Linked DNA regions of Homo sapiens: regions 2, 3 and 4 are each linked to region 1. Evidence: promoter capture Hi-C in 16 types of primary human blood cells and fetal thymus (Javierre and others, 2016). All regions are on one chromosome and are shown on one strand. Each heading gives the region's core, a stretch centred on a gene start or on the middle of the fragment in contact. The rest is flanking DNA. Distances are from core to core; before and after follow the strand shown.

Region 1 (5,174 bases), core at 730-3,229:
CTGATTTGGATTCAGTTCTGCTTATGATTTAACCAACTGGTAGTTTTAGAATTCATGCTTGGGCTTGGTCTCTGATGAAAAGTAATTCACATTCTATACTCATCCTCAAAATCAACTATTGCACATTCCCACATAAATGCTGGCATTAGGAGACTATGCCAGAAAAGAAAAGTCCTTTTGTCTTCTGCTTCATCATCTAAAAGAAAGGTAAATTGATTTCCACGGGCATGGTGGCTCACGCCTGTAATCCCAGCACTTTGGGAGGCCAAGGCAGGAGGGTCACTTGAGCCCAGGAGTTGAGACCAGCCTGAGCAACATAGGGAGACCTCGTCTCTACAAATTTAAATAAATAAACGTGCGCGCGCGCGCACACACACACACACACACACACACACACACGGAAAGAGTGAACTCCAGCTAAGAATACCAGTCATGGTGTTAAAAAAACAATTCCCAAACTTTCCTGCACGCTGGAATCACCTAAAACATACTTGACAATTACTGATGCCTGGTTCCCACTGTGGCCTTGTGATAAAATGGGTAATGTGTGTGGATTTTTAGAAGCTGTCCAGGTGATTCCCAATGTTGCTGTACAATGAATTTTGGGAGCCACTATCTTAAACACTTACTGAATCACTTGTGGCATGATTTTTAAACCGAAATTCCTGTCCCTACCCTAGACTTCCTAACCAGAATCTCTGGGGTAGGGGATCCCTGGAACGTGTATTTAACGTTAAGCTCCATAGGTGATCCTAATGGCCAGCCAAAGCTGCAAATTATTAGCTAAGAACAAAGGAGAAATCTCTAAAATACGTGAAACTTGTCTTTGCCTGTGGTTCTCAAAACTTGCCCTCAAAATCAACTACAGGACTTAACTAAAATATAGAGTGCTGGTCCCACTCCCCTTCTTCTCCCCGCCCCACCCCCCCACCCCGTGTTTCTGACTCAGTCCTGGAGTCGGGCCCTAGAATTTGCACTTTTAACAGGTTCCCGGGTGATGCTGATGCTGCCGGTCCTGGGCGCCACACTCCCAGAACCGTTGCAATGTACTTAACAGTTTCCAGGTTAAGTACATTACAGTTATATATTAACAGGGGTGGGGCGAGAGAGCCTCAAAGGCCTAATTCATGCCTCTTTGTACGGAGGAACTGCTAATCCCAGTTTAAGCCCAAGAAACACGAGTAGTCCAATTTCCAGAGTTACCCTTGGCACATAAACCACATGTGGTTTGCAGAGTGAATGTATGAATAATACATTTTAAAAGCGTGTGTGCGCAGGAGGGTAAGGCAGACTGCTAGATACCCGGTTAGAGGCTGCGGACCTTTTTTTTTTTTTTTGGCGAGGTGCAGTTCATAGATCAGGGGTTTCACTCTGCAGCATGGTATAAGCACAATCACTAAGAACTGGATGCTACTTGCAGTTTTGTCACCAATTTCTTTGGTGACTTTGGGTGTTAAGTGACTGTTTTGAACCTCTCTCCTCTTAGGTAGATAATATCGGAAACCTCTTCCACCTACGACCCGCAGAGCGAGGGCTTGTCCCGGGATTTGTCTTGCACCCCCACCTCTCGCGTCTGCGCCACCCTGCGGGCGGCGCCGGCCCCTACCTGGCAATAGAGCCGATAAAGGGGTACGGCAGCGTAGGACGCCCCCAGCATGCCCACGGCGACAGCGGCCACGTAAGTGAGGGTCGTCTTGTTCTGCCGCCGCCGCTCCTCCTCCTGCGCGCGTGTGAAAGGGTTCGAGCTCTTAGGCCGCCGCGGCGGCTGCAATGCTGGATGCCGGGCTCGAAGGCTGCAGCGCTTCCATGTCCCAAGCCACCTCAGTCCTCTCTCGGCACCTCCTGTCCCACTCCACTCTGGCCTAAGAAACGGCTCTACCCTCTCTGCAGCCCTGGTTGGAGACCCAGGGTGGATCCAGCGCCAGCCACAGAAAGGAACGCACCTCCATCCAGGACGCCAGAGCCCTCCCATAACCCTCTGAACTAACACCCACCCGCCTCTCAGGGACGAGAGGTCAAATCTCGCGAGGCGTGCTCCGTCTCGCGAGATCTGGGTTGAGCCTGCCGCTGCCTTGGCTACCAGGCTCCTCAGGTGGCAGCGCTTGCAGTCGGGCTACGGAGGCCGGGTTGCCAGATTACGGGTAAGTTTGCGTTTTGCTTTGTGACTGTTACTCCCACTTCGCTTCTCGCCAGAACGTCTCTTAACATTTAGGAAAATGCGTTTCGCCCGTCCGCGTGCAAGCTTGCCATCACTTGGGGTTGCGCCTGTGATCTTTATTTAAACTCCACCAGCCTTTGTCTCGACCCGGCAGCCCCGGCGACGCTCTCCCGCGGTCTTTTCTCCTGGGGTCCCTTGGCCGCTGGCTCCTGTGCTCACTGCCCTGGACTTAGTTCAAGTATCACCTCTCTCAGGAAGCCTTGCTGTGTTAACCGCAGCCCTCATGGGCACCCACGACACCTGCATTTTCTCAGCCCGTGGGCAGTCGGCTTCCCCTGCTCTGATGCCCCTTACAACTTGCCCAGTGGAAAGCACCACAGCTGGAGCAGGAGGGAGGCTGTCACGCTGAAGTTTGTTCTGGAGAGAGTGACCAGGATAGGAGGGCCATTTAAGGAGAGACTGAAAGAAACGAACCCCGTGGGAGGATGTAATAGCTTTCTTCAGTTGTCCCACAGGACGAACTCGAGGGGGGCAGACAGCATAGCGGATTTTACTGTGTTAGAAGGAAGCATCTTTCTAGAAACTATAAAATAGCAGTTAAGAGCTCAGGTTCTGAGGTTAGGGGGTTCTGGATTTTTACCCGGGTCCTCACCATGGCCCTGTGCCCTTAGGTCAGTTACTTGTCCTCTAAGACCTGGTGTCCTTACTTGTAAAATGGAAATCAGAACAGTAAATGAATAATATTCATATAACGTCTTTCATGATGACTGAGGCATAGTAAGAATGTAGTTAAAAGTTAGGCTGTATTTCTACTTGCTACGTGGCCATTTCTAATGGCCAGAGCAGGTATAATTATCCCCACTATGTGGATGAGGAACTTGGAGGCCTGAGAAATTTTAACTAGTCATTCGACATTTTATTTATTTATTGCCCTCTCAACTGTGGGCCTGACACCAATCGACCTGCTGGCACTATAGCACAGAACAAGTCGGGAGATCACTTCAGTGATGGAGTGTCCTTTCTGCTGAGGGACTCAGAAAATAATCAAGTAACAGTTACCGAAATAAGGGAATTTCAGATAACAATCAGTGCAGTGAAGACAATGTAATAACATAGTATGATTGACAGTCATGAGAAGCGGTAGTAAAGTAAGGACGTTTTGAAGAGGTGACATTTGAGTTTAGATCTGAACGATGATAAGGAGCTACCTACTCAATAACAATTCCAGGCCAAGCAAAGGCCCAGGGGAAGGAAAGAGATAGAATGATTGAAGAACAGAAAGAAGGCCACTGTGTTCCCAACATAGCAGAGTGGAAAGTGGTAGGAAATGGGGTCAGAACAGGTAACAAAGGCCTGGTAATACCAGCCTTTTAAGCCATGTCCAAGGGTTTGGATTTTATTCTAAAAGTAATAGGAAGCTATTGGAATGTTTGACACATACAAGTGATGTGATCTGACTCACATTTTTGAAAAGATATTGATTACTTTGTGGAGAATGGATTAAAGGTAGGGGGAGGAATGGAAGTAGAACAATTAGGAAGCAATTGCAGTAGTCCACATGAGTGATGATGGTCACCTTGAGTGAGTAATTGATTAACTTGTGGTCACAGGGCCAGAAAATTGCAGAACCAATAAAATATAAATACCTTCTGACTTCTTTCTATACTCTGGCATACTGTCTCAAAAATTTCAGGTCTCCATGATTCTACAAATTTATTCATATTGTGTGATGACAGTGTTTGAAAATCTTTTTCATCTGCATGCACCTTGGTTCTTGTACCAGATTCTCAGCTCTTCTAGGATGAGATTTCTCAAAGTTTAATTTTCTTACAGCATAGACTGAAATCCTTGATACCAACAGTACATTTCCACTCACCATTCTGTTTCTCCAGGCACCCCTTCTTTGTAGCTCCAGGTAGCAGTATAAATATATGTCAGTATACAGTCTTTGTCTTGGACTCCAGTATTTCATTTTTTGTATAATAATTGCAAAATGAAACTCTTATGTACAGTGATATTGATAGCAATGAAGTGGTGTTGGTCTTTGTAGCTTTCTACTTTAATAAAAGAAAATATGCATTGTATCTGATCTTAGTATGATAATGTGAAATGACAGTTCATGTTTATGAAATACTTCTGAATGACAACTAAATATTTTGGTTTTTTACTTATATTTTGAATGAAATGTGTAGAACATAATTTAGTTCAATGTCCAATTAACAAACATATTAAACAATTTAAAATATTTCTGCAACATAATAGTACTCAAATTTCTTGTATACCCTTCACCAAGATTAGAGAATGATAAAGATTCTTCAGTCTTTATCTGCATACTTACTTGTTTATTTCCTATTACAAGAACACTTTCTCCTTCCAAACCACAGAGCAGGCATCAAAATCAGTAAGTTAATATTTATCCAGTATTACCATATGTAGTCAGCTTGGACTACCAATAGCAAAATACCACAGACTGGTTGCTTAAACAACAGAAATACTTGTTTCTCAAAGTGCTGAAGGCTGGAAAGTCAAAGATCAATGTATCAACTGATTCACTTCCTGGTGAGGGGTCTCCCTGGCTTGTGACATCTACCATCTTGCTGTGGCCTTACATAGATTGGAGTAAATGAGCTCTTATGTCTCTTATAAGGACACCAATCCCATGAGATCAGGTTCCCACCCTTATGACCTCATTCAACCATAATTACTTCCTAATCCAAATACAGCTACATTGAGGGGTTAGGGCTTCAACATATGGATTTTGGGGGATATATATTAAATTCTTTACATCATGTTATTCATGGACTCTACATAAATTACCCCATTTGTCCCAATCATTTCCATTTTAGATCTAGGATTTAATCCAGGATTACTCGTTGATTTTAGTTGTCATGCCTCTTCAGTCTTCTTCAATCTGGAATAGTTGCCAGTCTTTTCTTGTCTTTTTCTTTCCTTTTTTATTTTTATTTTTATTTTTATTTTTGAGAGACAAGATCTTGCTGGGTTGCTCAGGCTGGTT
Region 2 (5,174 bases), core at 971-3,470, 360 kb after region 1:
AGACTAAGTGATCTGCCCTCCAGGTGGCGATCACCTTCTGCTCCTAGGTACCCCCACTGGCAAGGCCAAGGTCTCCTCCACGTTTTTTCTGCAATTAATAATGTCATTTAAAAAATGAGCAAAGCCTTATCCGAATCGGATATAGCAACTAAAGTCAATACATTTTGCAGGAGGCTAAGTGTAAGAGTGTGTGTGTGTGTGTGTGCGTGCATGTGTGTGTGTGTGTATGTGTGTGAATAAGTCGACATAAAGTCTTTAATTTTGAGCACCTTACCAAACATAACAATAATCCATTATCCTTTTGGCAACACCACAAAGATCGCATCTGTTAAACAGGTACAAGTTGACATGAGGTTAGTTTAATTGTACACCATGATATTGGTGGTATTTATGCTGTTAAGTCCAAACCTTTATCTGTCTGTTATTCTTAATGTTGAATAAACTTTGAATTTTTTCCTTTCTTTCATGTATTTTTATTAACAGTTGGCTAGCAATGGTATTCTGTTCCCACCTCGGTAGCAAAGAGACCATTTGTAGAGATTATTACCTAGATAATAAAATGATAATACTATATAATTAGTAATAAATTAACATTTATTGGGTAGTTATGTGCCAGACACTGTGCTAAACACTTAGATGGAATATTTTATTCCATATTAGCTCTATGAGGTAGGGACAATTATTATCCCCATTTACAGAAGACAAAATGGAAAGTTAGGAGAGTCACGTAGCTTACCTAATGTTACAGAGGTAAAAGTGGCTGAGATGAATTCTGATCCCTGGAGTGGGCATTATTTAGAGGGGTGGTTCCCAAAAGCCAGTCCACAGACTGTCTTGTTCTCTAATATATAAAGAATAATTCAGCAACATCTAGGAGTATAAATCCAGAGATTCTGAATCAGTAGTTCTTGGATGGGGCCCAGAAATCTGAATTTTTAAACTGATCCCAGCCAACTTCCATCTGCAGCCAAGTAATTGGTGTCAAGGATTTATAGACTTGGCTCTTAATTCAAGTTCATGACCCTTGGGGGATCCACGCAGAGGCTTCAGAGATGCCATAATTATCTGAAATTGTATGCAACTTTTTATGTATAAACATTTATTTTGCTGTAGAGAAGACTTGTAGCTTTTTTTTTTTTTTTTTTTTTTTTTACTTCCCTAAAGGAACCTGTGATGCAAGGCGGAATAAAACCCCTGATTCATGTAAGAAGGCTGATGTAGAGCAGTGGTTCTCAGCCCAGGGAGCCCAGTAGATTCACCTGGGGAGCTCAAAACCGGCTGTGTGGGGCTGCAGCCCAGGCCAAGAAACTCAGCATCTCCGGCATAGTGAGAAGGGGGCTCTGTGTTGAGGAGTACAATTCTGGATTCAAATCTGTCACCTAGTGGGTATGTGACCTTGAGCAGCTTCTAAACCGTTTTGAACATAATCTCATCTGTGACATGAAGGTATACTCACTTCTGAGGGTTGTGGGGGGAACTAATGACAACAAATGAATTGTCTCTGGCACATCCGAGGCCTTCAACAGATAACTACATGGGGCCCACGAGAGTAGAATGGATGCCTTGAGCATTTTTCCAATTCAATATTTCAGACTATTCGTTCCTTCAGAGAGGACGGAAAAGAATTCCCCTGCTCATATGCCAGAGCAGGATGGCTGATGGTATGGGAATGGGTGGTAGAGACGTTGTTTCATAGTGTGACTTCACCAACAGTTCATAGACTAGCGCCAGCTTTGTGCACAAGGTCGATGGGCATCTCTTACTTGGTGACAACCTCTAGTTAAAATTGAGTGGTTACAAGTTAGGGTTCAGCTCTATTTTCATCCATCAAACACCTTTCACCTTTTTGTTGTTGTTGTTGTTGAGGTGGAGTCTCACTCTGTTACCAGGCTGGAGCGCAGTGGTGCGATCTCAGCTCACTGCAACCTCAGCCTCCTGGGTTCAAGCGACTCCTGCCTCAGCCTCCCAAGTAGCTGGGACTACAGGCACGTGCCACCATGCCCAGCTAAGTTTTGTATTTTTAGTAGAGGCAGGGTTTCACCGTGTTGGCCAGGATGGTCTCGATCTCTTGACCTCGTGATCCACCCACCTCGACCTCCTAAAGTGCTGGGATTACAGGCGTGAGCCACTGCACCCAACCCACCTTTCACCTTTCTCAGAGGAATAAGAATAGTGACCTTAGCTTAAGAATAGTGACCTTAGCCTAAGATTCTTCTGGGGCATCTTCAAATCTCTTGGAGGAAATGACTTCATGCCTGGAGAGCATTTGGATCCGAGATGGCAAGAACTGATATGAAGCCAAGCTGCGTAGACTCCCAGTCATACACAAGTCCTCAGTCCCTGGGGGCCCATCACATGCTGCATGTAGGATGGCTCTTCCATGCACACTTAAGCATAAGATGCCACCCAATCAAGCCCCTCTCTTCAAAGCATACAACTTCAATTTCCTTGTTGAAAATCATTGGCTTAGAAGTCTCTTTGGACATCTTTAGCTAGGAACTGGGTGAGAACTTTGAAATCTTGTCTTTGTGGTCAGAAGATGGCTTCTTGCTAATAAATCAAAAGGACCCTTTGGAGGAGATAGGACTAGTCAAAGGTGGCAAGCATCCTCTGCCTCTCTGGGTTTTGAGTCAGGGAGGACTTGGATCCAAAGTCCCTGTCTCTAACTTCTTTTTATCCTGCAAAGCCTGGCACAATGCCTGGAAATGGTATAGAGAGATAACAGTTACTGAGTCCTAAACCTGTGCCTTCCACATCTCATTTAATCCTCACACTACAAAACAGGTACTATTATTATCCCTGTTTTGCAGATAAAGAAACAGGCTTATGGAAATTAGGTAATCAGCATTTTTAACCCAGACCAAAGCCTGACCCCAGAGTTTGACAGGGGTGGGAAACATCAGGAGTTTACCAAACCTATTTATTTACCTTCTGGACATTCAAGTAGACCACTTTTTCCAGACTCCCTTACCTCTAGTATGACCATTCAACTGAATTCTGTCCAAAGGAACATAAGCAGAAGTAACCCCAGGTGTCACTTCCATGAAAGGCCCATAAACAGTGCCACCTGATGCTCTCTCTCTCCTTTTTTTCTGGCTCCTGGAGAAGATGGAGACTAAGAAGGAAGGGACCCAGGTCCCTGAGTATATGGCAAACGCACCTGACAGCAATAACTTCAGCATACTCTGAGAATGACCCTGTATGGCAGACACAGCTGAATGTGTGTTCAGAGTTCCAAGCTCAGGAATCTGGGAGTGGCCAGCCTGGAGGTTCATTCTTTATCTGTGACGAACATCTGAACCCTCAGCCTGTCCCAAGGACCACGAGCCATACAGGGGATCATAGTCCTCTGTTTTGGGTTAAATGAAGGTTGTCAGGTGGAGGTTGTTAAGGGGAGGGTGCGAAGTGGAAATGCTATTTTATAAACTACATACTATTTGCAAGTGGTTGTAGTTCTGTCTGGCCCACTGCCACTGGACCATCCCTACATGTAAATTTCCTCTAATAATAATTTATATCTCATTTGCTAGCTCTGGGTTTCTTCTTCAGCCTCTCAAACATGGTTCCTTCCCTGTTGAGATTAATAGGGGTCTGGCATGACACTAAGTCATCAAACTGTTACACGAGGAAGGAAAAAGCCTCGCTGTATTAAACCATTGAGATACTGGGGTTTCTTGTTGCATGGCCTAACTGCTGATTAGCCTAACCCTAATATGAGGACCTTCTTCTGAAGCCCAGTGTCCTTAATTTGAGGTCTTGACATCTTTGCCAGGTTCCCAACTGTAATCTAGGCTCATCACCCCTCACATACCTGACTTTGAGGTTTGTCCACCTTCTGGACAGACCTCCCACCCTGGTTAGGCTAAGCCTACTGGGTTGGACCTTCAGAACATCACTGCCTACCTCTTCCCTCCATTTATCCTGCGTTTGAACACTGTCCAGAATTGTTCAATTGCTCTCAGGGTGTATTAGTCCATTTTTGTGCTGCTGTGAAGAAATACCTGAGACTGGGTAATGCATAAAGAAAAAGAGGTTTGATGGACTTACAGTTCCACATGGCTGAGGAGGCCTCACAATCCTAGCAGAAGGTGAAGGAGGAGCAAAGGCACATCTTACATGGCAGCAGGTGAGAGAGTATGTGCAGGGGAACTGCCCCTTATAAAACCATCAGATCTTGTGATACTTATTCACTATCACAAGAACAGCACGGGAAAAACCTGCCCCCATAATTCAATTACCTCCCACCAGGTCCCTCCCATGACACAGGATTGTGGGAGCTACAATTCAAGACAAGATTTGGGTGGGGACACAGCCAAACCATATCACAGGGGAAGCAGCCTCTACTTCCAGATCAGCTTTTCTACTCATTATCCTCTCCCGAATCCAAATTCTCTCCCTGGCCACTCAGTGCCCCCTTCATCCCCAGCCCCAGTTATTCAGGTACTCACTTCAAGATGAGGCCTACCATTTCTTAGAGCACTGGTCTTTCAGTTTTTTTGCTCACATGCTCCCAAAAATTCTTTTTAAACCATGAATCCACATTGCACATTATAAAGTTGACAACTAAAATTTTTTTAATCACAAGTTTAAATAGTTGCAAAGGATGTAATAGCTGCTCTAAGTACTGGCATTTAAAAATAAGCTACTACATGACTCTTTTTAATATATCTGATGAACTATTAAAACCCTAGTGATTTACTACCAACCAACATCCATTTGAAAAATAGAGTTGGAATTTGTACACCACTTTTTTTTAATCAAAATAATTATTTACATTGTGTTTCCTCACTGAGTTTGTCTCTTATGTAATATATTTTTATGCCTCAAAGTCTTATATTGTCCCTCCATCGTATTTCTCAGTCATAAAACAACAGCTATAGACTGAGATTCTTATTTTTATTTTCAAAAAAAATAAAACAAGGCTCATAAATTTTTTATCTTTAGGTATGAGTTATGGTTACCTTCATTACTAGCACATGCATGATCAAAACCATGTCTATAGTAAAATTTTAAATAATTATTATCCATGAAAAATAAAATTTTAACAGGACTACAAATCTAGGAAGATGGATAGGAGTGGTTGTGGATAACTGATAAAGAAAAAGACTTCACAGACAACAAACTTCCTTGTTGTCCCTTTGTCTGGTGCCACAAACATTTTTATGCCTGGAACT
Region 3 (5,174 bases), core at 1,958-4,457, 290 kb after region 1:
GTTGTCGTCTCAGGAAAGCAGACCTGCTGAAAGCTCATCAATCTTAATGTTCCCTGCCTGACACCAAAAATGCATTAACAGATGGGGAATGGTGTGCTTGGAACCTAGTAAAAGTGAAGTCGAAAGAGTCAGGAATGCTGCCTCCAGTGCTGTACAAAGACCAGCAGATGCAATGCCTTTGAGGCAATAATAAGTAGGAAGAAAGTAACCCTAGAATGTGTCTATTGATGTGTAAGATCTAAAACCACAGCGGGCCAAGCAAGACCCTTCAGGATGCTTCCTCCTGCTTCTCTCACCCTGGCTGCAAGTCCCTGGGATGGAAACATTCACATCCACATGCTCAATTGGAAAGAAGTACTCGGCAAGGCTATGCGCACCCGGCTGGCACTGCCTGATGTCATTAAAGTCATGCGATTCACTCCCCTTGCTCTGATTCCACGCTCAGCAAGAAAGCTCCCATGGAGAGTATCCCTACAGGGCAGGGAACACATTGTCCAGCTGACACAAATTTTTAAGTATTGCTTGAAGTTCAACACGCCTGGCATGCTCCTTAGAAAGACCTCCTTTTTAAAGGAAAGCTATGCCGGGCTAATCTGGTTGCACATGGTACATGCCAGTGTCTGAGTCAAACCAGTTGCCTTGGGCTCTATAATTGGATCAATTACCAATGTTCCAACAAAGATACTCATTTACAGGTATAAGGTTAGCCAATCACTTATGAGATGGCTCCTGTGAGACTCCACCCAATGCAGAAACTTCAAAGAAAATGGTGACAATGTCTATGAATCAGAACCTTTGTTTTGGGATTAAGACACAATAAAGGGAGGGAAGTTGGTCCTGATGCCCTACATGATGACAGGCCATTGTTCAAGTTCTCCCCAGGTTTTCAGGATGCATTGGTCATGAAAATACTTGGTCCACCAGAGCATGCATATACCCTCAGCATGGTTTTGTGGTCTTGCTCTCCACTTGCTTAGCTTAAAAATAAACTCTGATCACCTGAGGATACCTGGTCTTATATTTCCCATGCACATAAAAGAGCCTGAAGTGCAGCTTAGAAATTATATATAATTTTTAATTTTGATTTTCAAGTTATATTTTAGAATGTGGTTGATGTCAGTCAGTTTCACTCAGCCTAATTGACATTGGATCCTAAGCAAATTAAAGACTAGATTCTGAGTCATGGTGATTTTCTGCCTCTACAGCTCAACTGTCTCTACCTTCAGTTGCATTTACTAGACTTGAAATAATTTTAAAGTGTTAGTTAATCCACAAACTTCTATTCCTTCACCCTTTATGAAGATATAGGAAATATCTATTCTTTCCTGACTCTGGCTGAGTGGCTATTTGGAATCTGCTATATTTGATTTTTTTTATTGAACTTCAAACTTGTGTTTTTTGGTTTTTTTTAAATTATACTTTAAGTTTTAGGGTACATGTGCACAACGTGCAGGTTAGTTACATATGTATACATGTGCCATGTTGGTGTGCTGCACCCAGTAACTCGTCATTTAACATTAGGTATATCTCCAAATGCTATCCCTCCCCCCTCCCCCCACCCCGCAACAGGCCCCGGTGTGTGATGTTCCCCTTCCTGTGTCCATGTGTTCTCATTGTTCAATTCCCCTTTTGGAGACTGGGAGCAATAGAATGTAGCTGCCCCTGGTGAGAGAAAATGGTGAGAAGAAAAAAGGATGTGTGTTTGGATGAAAAGTAGCTTCTAATATCATGGACTACATCAACAGTTTTGCAGATTCATAAGTGGGAGCATCTCTGCAAAGGAGCAGAGAAACCAGAAAATGCAAAAAAGCCCCAAATAGCAAGCCCTCACATTTGTTTAGCGCTTCACAATGTACCAAGCACCTCCACATGAGTTATCTCATTTAATCCTCCTAGCAACTCTGCAAGCTGGGAAGCACAGGCATTAGTTTATATTTCACACAAAGAAACTTGAGATCAGAGAGGTTATCCAAGGTCACGGGACAGAAGCAGGATTTGAACCAGTTACAAACGGTGTAAGCTTATTGAATGAATGTTTGTCCTTCATTTACTGGAGCAAGGTTAAGAGTGCAAGCACTGGAGTCAAGCAGACCTGTTTTCAACTCATAGCTTCTCCATGTATTAGCTAGCCATAGGATCATGACAAGTCACTAATTTCTCTGGGCCTCACTGTCCTCATCTGAAAAATGGGAATAATGAAATATACCCTATATCATTGTCCCAAGTAATACATAAGATAATATATTTAACAGGTCTAATGTTGCTCCAGAACACAGTTAAACACACAATAATTTATGCCTTCTTCATGCTGTTGTTGGCATTTGTTGTAGTAGTAGAAGTAGTAATAGTGGCAGGTGTCAATGTATATCTGGCCCCAAATCCTGCGTTCATTCTATGCAACACACTGCACTGATTTTTTTTTCTTCTCCTTTTGCCACGCGTATTTTTTCTTTCTCTTTTATACAGTTTTCTTTCATCCTCCTTCCTATCACATGTATAGAAATCCTACCATCCTCTGATTTGAAACACACATACAGACACATGCCTGATTTAGTACCTCTTCTACCGATCTACCTGTCTTAGTCTTTCCCACTCATTTACCCAAACAATACAGGGCTCAGGGAAAGGACGGGGAAGCCTCAAGGAAAGCACAGGGAAGGACTCATGCTCCTTTACATAAGTCAGTCTCAGAGGAGGGCTTGGCATTCCCAACAAATGTTTTATTGTTTTGGTTTCCATGATCCTACACCAAGTGAAGAGATTTGAGGGTCTCCAGTAGTTAAGCTAATTAGATATAATTTTCCTTTTTGGTGCTTTAGCTGAGTTAGAGGTTTCAGGAAGGAGAGAAGGAAGAAGCCTGGGTTAGGCATATCTAGCCTAACTCCCACGTGATGCCTTTCACTTCTGAATTAATTCCCTGGATAAAGTACCCTTTCTGACAACGAGATAAACAGGTTCATCCAGAGGTTTGGCTCACTAGACTATAAAGCCCTTCATAACCACAGTGCTCGTCTCCATCCACCCCAGGCTCCTAGCCCCAAGTAGGCTACAGTGGCAGGCATTGTGTGCTCAACAAGGCTTCACACCCACTGGGAATCTGAAACATAAACACTGCTTACACTGCAAAGTTCTCTCTGCAGACCTGCAAGGCTGGTGCCAAAATGGCTGCCTCACGTCTGCCCCCACCGGGCTGCACAAAGGACTCCCCACCCAATCTCACTATCAAAACCTCTGAAATGACAGGACAGGTGGCAACCACTGGCTGGGCAAAAGGCTGATTTCCAGAACTTCAGAGGAGAGCTGTGCTGGCATCCTTTAAGAAGTTGATTCTGGGGAACGTTTCTTCTATGGTCATTCCTATTTTTAGGACAGTTTTAAACCTCCAGAGCTTCTGCTATTCCTTTCTCCTTGAAGGGCCAACTGAAGGGTTTTTCAGTGGCTTGTCAAATGTTCTTTATCTAGTATTTGTTTGTTCGAATTTCTCTAACAAAGAGGTTTAGTTTTGACTTACTGTTTAAGCACATGCAGGTTAAGACAGGAGCACTGAGGCATTACTAGTTGTAACCAAAGACATCCAATAGGCTTAATTATTTGCTCATACACAAAAAAGCAAATTGGATAATGCCTCTGCTTTTGGCTCTTATCTAACTTAATGTGGACAACTTTGTAGAGGTCTTGTCAACAAACTGAATGAGCCACTGAAAGTGAGGCATTCATTTTAGCCGTAAACTTTGGTGAACTTTTTTCTGTTGCTGGATATGAATCAGATCCCAGGAAACTTAGAAAGAACATAGAAATAGCATTATTCTGTCCTTAGTGATAAAATACCCATTTTTCCTCGGGATCAAAAGTTTGGGTCACCCACAAATACACAGTCAAATAATTGTCAGCAATAACATCAAAAGAATTCAAGGGGGGGCCGGGCGCGGTGGCTCACGCCTGTAATCCCAGCACTCTGGGAAGCCAAGGTCCACGGATCACCTGAGGTCGGGAGTTCGAGACCAGCCTGGCCAACATGGAGAACCCCGTCGCTACTAAAAATATTAATACTAAATACTAATACCCCATCGCTACTAAAAATACTAATAAAAATTGCCGGATGTGGCGGCTGGTGCCTGTAATCCCAGCTACTCAGGAGGCTGAGGCAGGAGAATTGCTTGAACCTAGGAGGCGGAGGTTGCGGTGAGCTGAGATCACGCCATTGCACTCCAGTCTGGGCAACAAGAGCGAGACTCCATCTCAAAACAAAACAAAACAAACAACAACAACAAACAATTCAAGGGGGAAATGAAAGTCTAAAACAATTGGATATCCCCATGAGTAAAACCAACCTTAATCCTTACCTCATAGTATACACAAAAATTAATTTGAAATGGGTCATAAGGCTAAATGAAAAAGCTTAAACTATGAAAGTTATAAAGGAAAGTATAGGAGAATATCTCCAGAACTCAGGAGTAGTCAAAAGTTTCCTAGTTCATAGCAAGCAATAATCATGAAAAACAAATTGATAAATTGAACTTTGTCAAAATTAAAAACTGCTCATGGAAAGACGTTATTATAAAAACTAATCAGCAAGCCACAGATTGGAAGAAAATATTCACAACACACAAACATCTGACAAAGAGACTATCCAAAGTATATAAAAGAACTCCTAAAATTCAGTAATCAAAAGATAACCAAATTCAAAAATGGGCAAGAGACTTGAACAGGAAGATGTACAAGCTACTAAGAAGCACATGAAGTAGCACATGCCATCATTTTTCATCAGGAAAATTCAGATGAAAGGTCCATTGAGAACTGACTATCCACCCACTAGAATGGCTACAAGTTTTAAGAGAAACTGACACCACTAAATATTGGTGAGGCGCTAGAACAACCAGAACTCTCATATACTGCTGCTGGAAATGCAGGACAATTTACCTGCTTCAGAAGACTATAGAAGAGCTTCTTCTAAAGTAAAACACACATCTTTTCTATGATCCAGTAATCCTACTCCTATTTGTTTATCCAAGAGAAAGGAAAGCATGTGTTCACAAAAGAACTCAGACAAGAATTCTCATAAACATTTTATTCATGCCTAAAAACTGGAAACAACCCAAATGTCCACCAATACAACAGATAAACTTTTGTATATTCATAGAGCGGAATACTACTCACTAATATAAAGAAATGAA
Region 4 (5,174 bases), core at 1,635-4,134, 270 kb after region 1:
AGGGAGGATGTTTACTTGCTGCTTCTGGGAAGAAGCACTTTTACTAAATGAGACTTTCCCAAAGCTTTACTTTTTTTTTTTTTTTTTTTTTCTTTTTGAGGCAGGTTCTCACACTATCCCCAAGGCTGGAGTGCAGTTGGGATCTCAGCTCACTGCAACCTCCGCCTCCCAGGCTCAAGTGATTTTCGTGCCTCAGCCTCCTGAGTAGCCGGGACTGCAGGCGTGAGCCACCACGCCTGGCTAATTTTTGTATTTTTTAGTAGAGACGGAGTTACACCATGTTGCCCAGGCTGGTCTCGAACTCCTGAGCTCAGGCAGTCTGCCCGCCTCAGGCTCCCTAAGTGCTAGGATTACAGGCGTGAGCAACCGCTCCCGGCCTCCCAAAGCTTTAGATGAAGCTGACACTATGGAAACCTTGGCAGAAGATTAGAAAGAAACAAGTTCCTGATGGCATTGTTTAGCAGGCAAATCGATGTATCCCTGAAATCCAACATCCAATCTGAAGTTAAATGAGCTTTACCGTTCAAGCCACTTAGAGTTGGACTTTTAGTTAACTTGCAACCGAATATAACCGGCACATATGTACTAACCACAGTGATAATAATATCTGCACTACAAACTCACAATCGGGAGAGTAAAAGCTAATCACATATGTGAAACTGCTGTGTCAGCTTTATTATGCAAGTATTTGTTGCTGAGAGCCTCTTGGTTAAGATACTTTCCCTCAAGAGACAGAACTTGAAAAGAATCTTAAAGATGTGGAGGGCTTCGGTTGTTCATATCGGGATTTTAAAAAACGTCTCAACTGTGTATCAGAAAGCTTAAGACATTAAGATTCAAGCTGAACAGAACAGGAAATGCGGCAGATACTGTACATGACAAACTTTCTAGGAGGAAATGATTTACATAAAAGCTGGTGCCCAGCACAGGGTAAGTGCTAAATAACTGTTTTTAAATGTTATTTGGAAAAAAAAAAAAAAAGATTAATCATCCATGGTACAAAATTTAAAAGTTACATAAGTATGGAGTCTCGCGTCTTCCCTGACCCCCACCCCCAGTCATCCAATATATTTTTCCAGAACTAGTCTGATCATAACATATATACATATATAATTTTTTTCCTCACAAATGTCAGCATCCCAGACACTGTTCTGCATCATTTTTTTTTACAAATCACATAATGTATCTTGAAGGTCTTTCCATATCAGTGTCTAGAGAGCAGAGTCTATTTGTTTTTAAGAGCTGCAGACAACTTCAAGTGTGGCCCAACCATAATTTACGTTTCTATGAATTTAACCGGTGTTATCGTTGGACATTTTGACTGTTTCTGGCCGTTTGTGATGTCCAACAATGATGTAATGATTATCCTTGCAGGGACTTCACTTCGCAGGAGCAGAAGCCCATTTGCAGGATAAATTCTGAGTTGCGGAACTAGTGATTTACAGGGCAGAGGTGCAGTCTTTGTCTTAATTTCTGAATTCACGAATGTTGAATGTGATGAATTCGTGGGAAGCCCCGCAGGGAGCCTAAGCAGCTCTCCAGAGGCTGTGGTTGTCACGGATGATGATTGCGGGACCCGCAGACTGAGTCTCCAAGCGCTCCGCCCCGCCGCGCCCCTCTCCGCGGGTCCCACCGCGGACCCGCCCCTGCGCGCCCCGGGCCAGGAGCCCCTAGCTGCAGGACCAGGCACGTGCGATTCCACGTGAGCCTCCCGGCCGGAGCGCAGATGGGAAGTGCGCATGCGCCTACCGCCTGGAAAGTAGGTCAGACTCCTCCTCTCACGTGACCTGCTCCCCTTAGCTACCCTCGGCGCCTCCCCGCCGGGGCGCAGCCGGGATGCGCTCGGCAGCCAACGTGACGGGGCTGGGCGCGGGCGGCTCCGCGAGCGCCCAGCGCCCGCGAGGATTTGCCGGTTCTCCTCACACCCGAGCGCTCCGCTCAGAAGTCGGGCGGGCAAAAGGGAGCGCCTCGGGAAGTATCTGGGAGCCGGGCTGGAAATGAATGGGGCCCGGAAGCGAGCTCAAATCGCTGACACCTGGCACCGGGCTGCGTCCACTTTCATGCTTCCTAAGGCAGTTCTGCCTGCAAGAAGGGAACGCGCATCGCCTTTCAGTAGATCACACCGATCGTTTGCACGTTTGCATTCTCAATTTCTGCACTATATAGGGCAACTCAGACATGAAAACAATCTTTGTAAGAAGAAGTGGAATGCTAATGGTTCCTGGAGTTTTGCAGGAATATTCCACCGGCCCCATTTCTAATCTCCCACTCACTCCCTCCCCAAAGACACTCCTACTAGAAAGCTTATCGGTAGATTTCTCACCTTCCACAAGAGACTTCAGGGGCGCTGCTGCTGCTGCTGCTGCTGCTGCTGCTGCTGGAGGCTGGAGGGGGTTGGGAGCAGGGAACGAAGGCAGGTCTGAATTAGCTGAAGCTAAATTCTATATATCAGAAATAATTTTATTTATTGCCCCATTGCTTTCTGATTTTTAACTTGTTGCACAAATGACAGACTCTGCCTCAGTGAGTTGCAATCCAGTGGAGGGCACTAACAGGCAAAATCATGGGTTACAATGCAGTGGGCTATACATGTTTTAATAGAGGTGTGCCCAGGTGTTATATAAGCACAGTGGTGGGTACCCTGAGTCTTGAAGACTAAGTGGGAGTTAGCTGGCAGAGAAATAAGGCAGAGGGGGTGGAAAGTGTTCCAAACAAAGGGAATAACTAATAGTTACATAATATTTTCCTCTAAGAAGTTTTTACTATAATTGTCTTAGTCATGCATATGGTTAGAATATGTATTGTTTACATTTATATTATTCTAAGACAGTCTTGAATGAACATTGTTGTGCATGAGGCTTCCCCCCTCCACTTTTAATAACCCCTAGGAGTGGGATTGCTATATAAAAGACACAAATATTTTGTAACTTTTGATAAAGTATTGCCAAATTATTTTCAAAAATATGTTGTACTCATTTGTACCAATATTTAGCCTTCAGTCAGTAAATTGCCCGTTATTTCAAATCAATGAAGCCTTATGACATTAACACTTGATTCATTAGAATATGCCAGAAATCATAATACACATGCATTTCTGCTTTATATGACCCATGACAAAAGTCTAATTGAATTCAAGTTTAAAAATGGGAAAATATCGGATCAGTACATTTCATTCTTACAGGGAACACCTAACATGGACAAGGTGGGAGGTGGGGGCAGGAGTGAAAGTGGGACAAACTAAAGCCTCACCAAATGCCTGTCTCTGATTGCTCTTTTCTTACTGTACGTCTAGGGTAAGAGATAAAGCAGCTCACACAAGCCAGAACAAGCAAAGAGGTTTTCACACCCCTCTGCAAATGTCAGAACAGTAGCAGAATCAAAGGGACCTAGGGTTTGACCTCTTCAGAGGTCACTTTAACTTGCAGCAGAAAAGCTGATCAGGTGTTGATGAATTTCTGGAAGCCTGCAAGCTTCCTAACTCAATTTCTGTTGGCATCTGTATCTGCAAGAAGAAAACAATACTGTGACATTAGAACATTTGTGACGAAAGGTAATGTAAGTAATGTGGACAATGAAAGGAGAACGTATCTTGGTTTTGCCTGTATTAAGCTAGATCACTAAGGAAATCTGAAGCATGGAACAGAGTTATAACTTTTCAAACACATGGTTGTAGTTCATACTGCGGTTATTTTCCTAATATCTATCCTTCACCTTGTGTATCAGTCTTATAATTTCAGCTGGTGGGGGGCCTTACCTCCTCTCTCAGTTCAGGGGTTGGGCTTGACCAAATTAACAAATCAGGGTGGTCCCATTGTTTTTTGTTTCGTTTCGTTTGGGTTTTCTGTTTATTTATTTGCCTTTAAAATTTTATTATAATAACATTTAACATGAGATCTACCCTTCTAAAATTTTTTAAGTGTGAAACATTATTGTTGATTATAGGTGCAATGTTGTACGGCAGATCTCTAGAACTTATTCATCTTGCTTGACTGAAACTTTATGCCCACTAATTGGTAACTCCCCATTTTGTCCCCTCCCCAGCCCCTGGAAACCACCTTTCCACTTTTTGAGTCTTTGAATTTGACTATTTTGAGTTCCTCAGATAAGTGGAATCATGCAGTGTTTGTCTTTCTGTGACTGGCTTATTTCACTTAGCATAACGTATGCAAGGTTCATCTATCTCATTTTATATTGCAGAATTGCCTTCTTATTATGGTTGAATAGAATTCCATTGTATGTCTATACCATATTTGCTTTATGCATTCATCTGTTGATAGACATTTAGTTTGTTTCCACCATTCCTCTTTTTATGAGGATTGAAAGAGTTCCTGCAGCAGATGCACTTAGAAGAGTGCCTGACATATATTAAGAGTACATGAAGTATTAGTTGTTGTTACTGTTGTTATTATTAGTGTAACAATGACTGGTTCAATCAGAGGAAAGCCTGGACTTGTTATAGTTACTCGATGCCATCCTTTCTCCTTGGACAGGAATGGAAGAGCAGGTATAACTACTGATGCCCTCTTTCCACCTCGAGAGGATCCAACCCAACCACACACCTGATAAACAGGGAGAAGCAGAGGAAGCTACACCCTGATCAAACTACACTTGAAGCCTGTACTCCCTCTTGACCTTTGAGCTGTTTGAGCTAAATGCATCCCATTTGTTACCTTAATTATTAGAATTGGGTTTTCAGGTGTTTGTCAATGCAGACATCCTGATACCAATGTCTAGGTCTTCATTTTATTTTATTTATTTATTTTTAGACAGGGTGTCACTCTGTCACCCAGGATAGAGTGAAATGGCATGATCTCGGCTCACTGCAGCCTTGACCTCCCAGGCTAAAGCAATCCTCCCACCCCAGCCTCCCAAGTAGCTGGGACTACAGGCATGTACCACCACACACAGCTAAGTTTTTTTGTAGAGATGGAGTTTTGCCATGTTGCCCAAGTGGGTCTTGAACTCCTGGGCTCAAACAGTTCACCCACCTTGGCCTCCCAAAATGCTGGGATTACAGGCATGTGCCAGCACACCTAGCCCAGGTTTTCATTTTAACTAAAGGGTCAAAATGATGACACAGACACTCCATTTTGAGCATGCACTTGTTAAAGAATGGAATTAAATTTCACATCCGTAACAAATGAATAAAACATCCAATGTATTAGTTTGCTAGA

Evidence for each region. The method cuts DNA at HindIII sites, captures the fragments that hold promoters and counts their contacts. A CHiCAGO score of 5 or more calls a contact.
Region 2: a contact is called between a fragment that was not itself captured here and the fragment with the promoter of COX11 in region 1, in 1 of 17 cell types (naive CD8 T cells). The highest score is 6.9, in naive CD8 T cells.
Region 3: a fragment that was not itself captured here is called in contact with the fragment with the promoter of COX11 in region 1 in 7 of 17 cell types (fetal thymus, non-activated CD4 T cells, naive CD4 T cells and 4 more); the score reaches 8.6 in fetal thymus.
Region 4: a contact is called between a fragment that was not itself captured here and the fragment with the promoter of COX11 in region 1, in 6 of 17 cell types (fetal thymus, non-activated CD4 T cells, naive CD4 T cells and 3 more). The highest score is 9.6, in fetal thymus.

The regions. Positions count from the first base shown.
Region 1 is chr17:54,966,675-54,971,848 of GRCh38, forward strand. COX11 (cytochrome c oxidase copper chaperone COX11) reads right to left here and starts at 1,980. Exons shown (of 4, transcript NM_004375.5): 1 at 1,607-1,980. The coding sequence starts at 1,972. It overlaps STXBP4 (syntaxin binding protein 4), which reads left to right and starts at 2,091. Exons shown (of 18, transcript NM_178509.6): 1 at 2,091-2,141. RefSeq lists enhancers at 1,050-1,999, 1,849-1,908, 1,919-1,998, 2,000-2,948, 2,179-2,278 and 1 more. The HindIII fragment of the contact is 10,915 bases long and covers 1-2,240 here.
Region 2 is chr17:55,324,605-55,329,778 of GRCh38, forward strand. It overlaps HLF (HLF transcription factor, PAR bZIP family member), which reads left to right. Exons shown (of 4, transcript NM_002126.5): 4 at 1-583. Among named protein-coding and RNA genes, the nearest start is that of HLF, 62 kb to the left of the region's middle. RefSeq lists an enhancer at 3,124-3,418. The HindIII fragment of the contact is 9,433 bases long and covers 1-5,174 here.
Region 3 is chr17:55,256,791-55,261,964 of GRCh38, forward strand. No RefSeq gene overlaps it. Among named protein-coding and RNA genes, the nearest start is that of HLF, 5.6 kb to the right of the region's middle. The HindIII fragment of the contact is 2,378 bases long and covers 2,019-4,396 here.
Region 4 is chr17:55,236,701-55,241,874 of GRCh38, forward strand. No RefSeq gene overlaps it. Among named protein-coding and RNA genes, the nearest start is that of HLF, 26 kb to the right of the region's middle. RefSeq lists a silencer at 1,503-1,972. The HindIII fragment of the contact is 1,167 bases long and covers 2,302-3,468 here.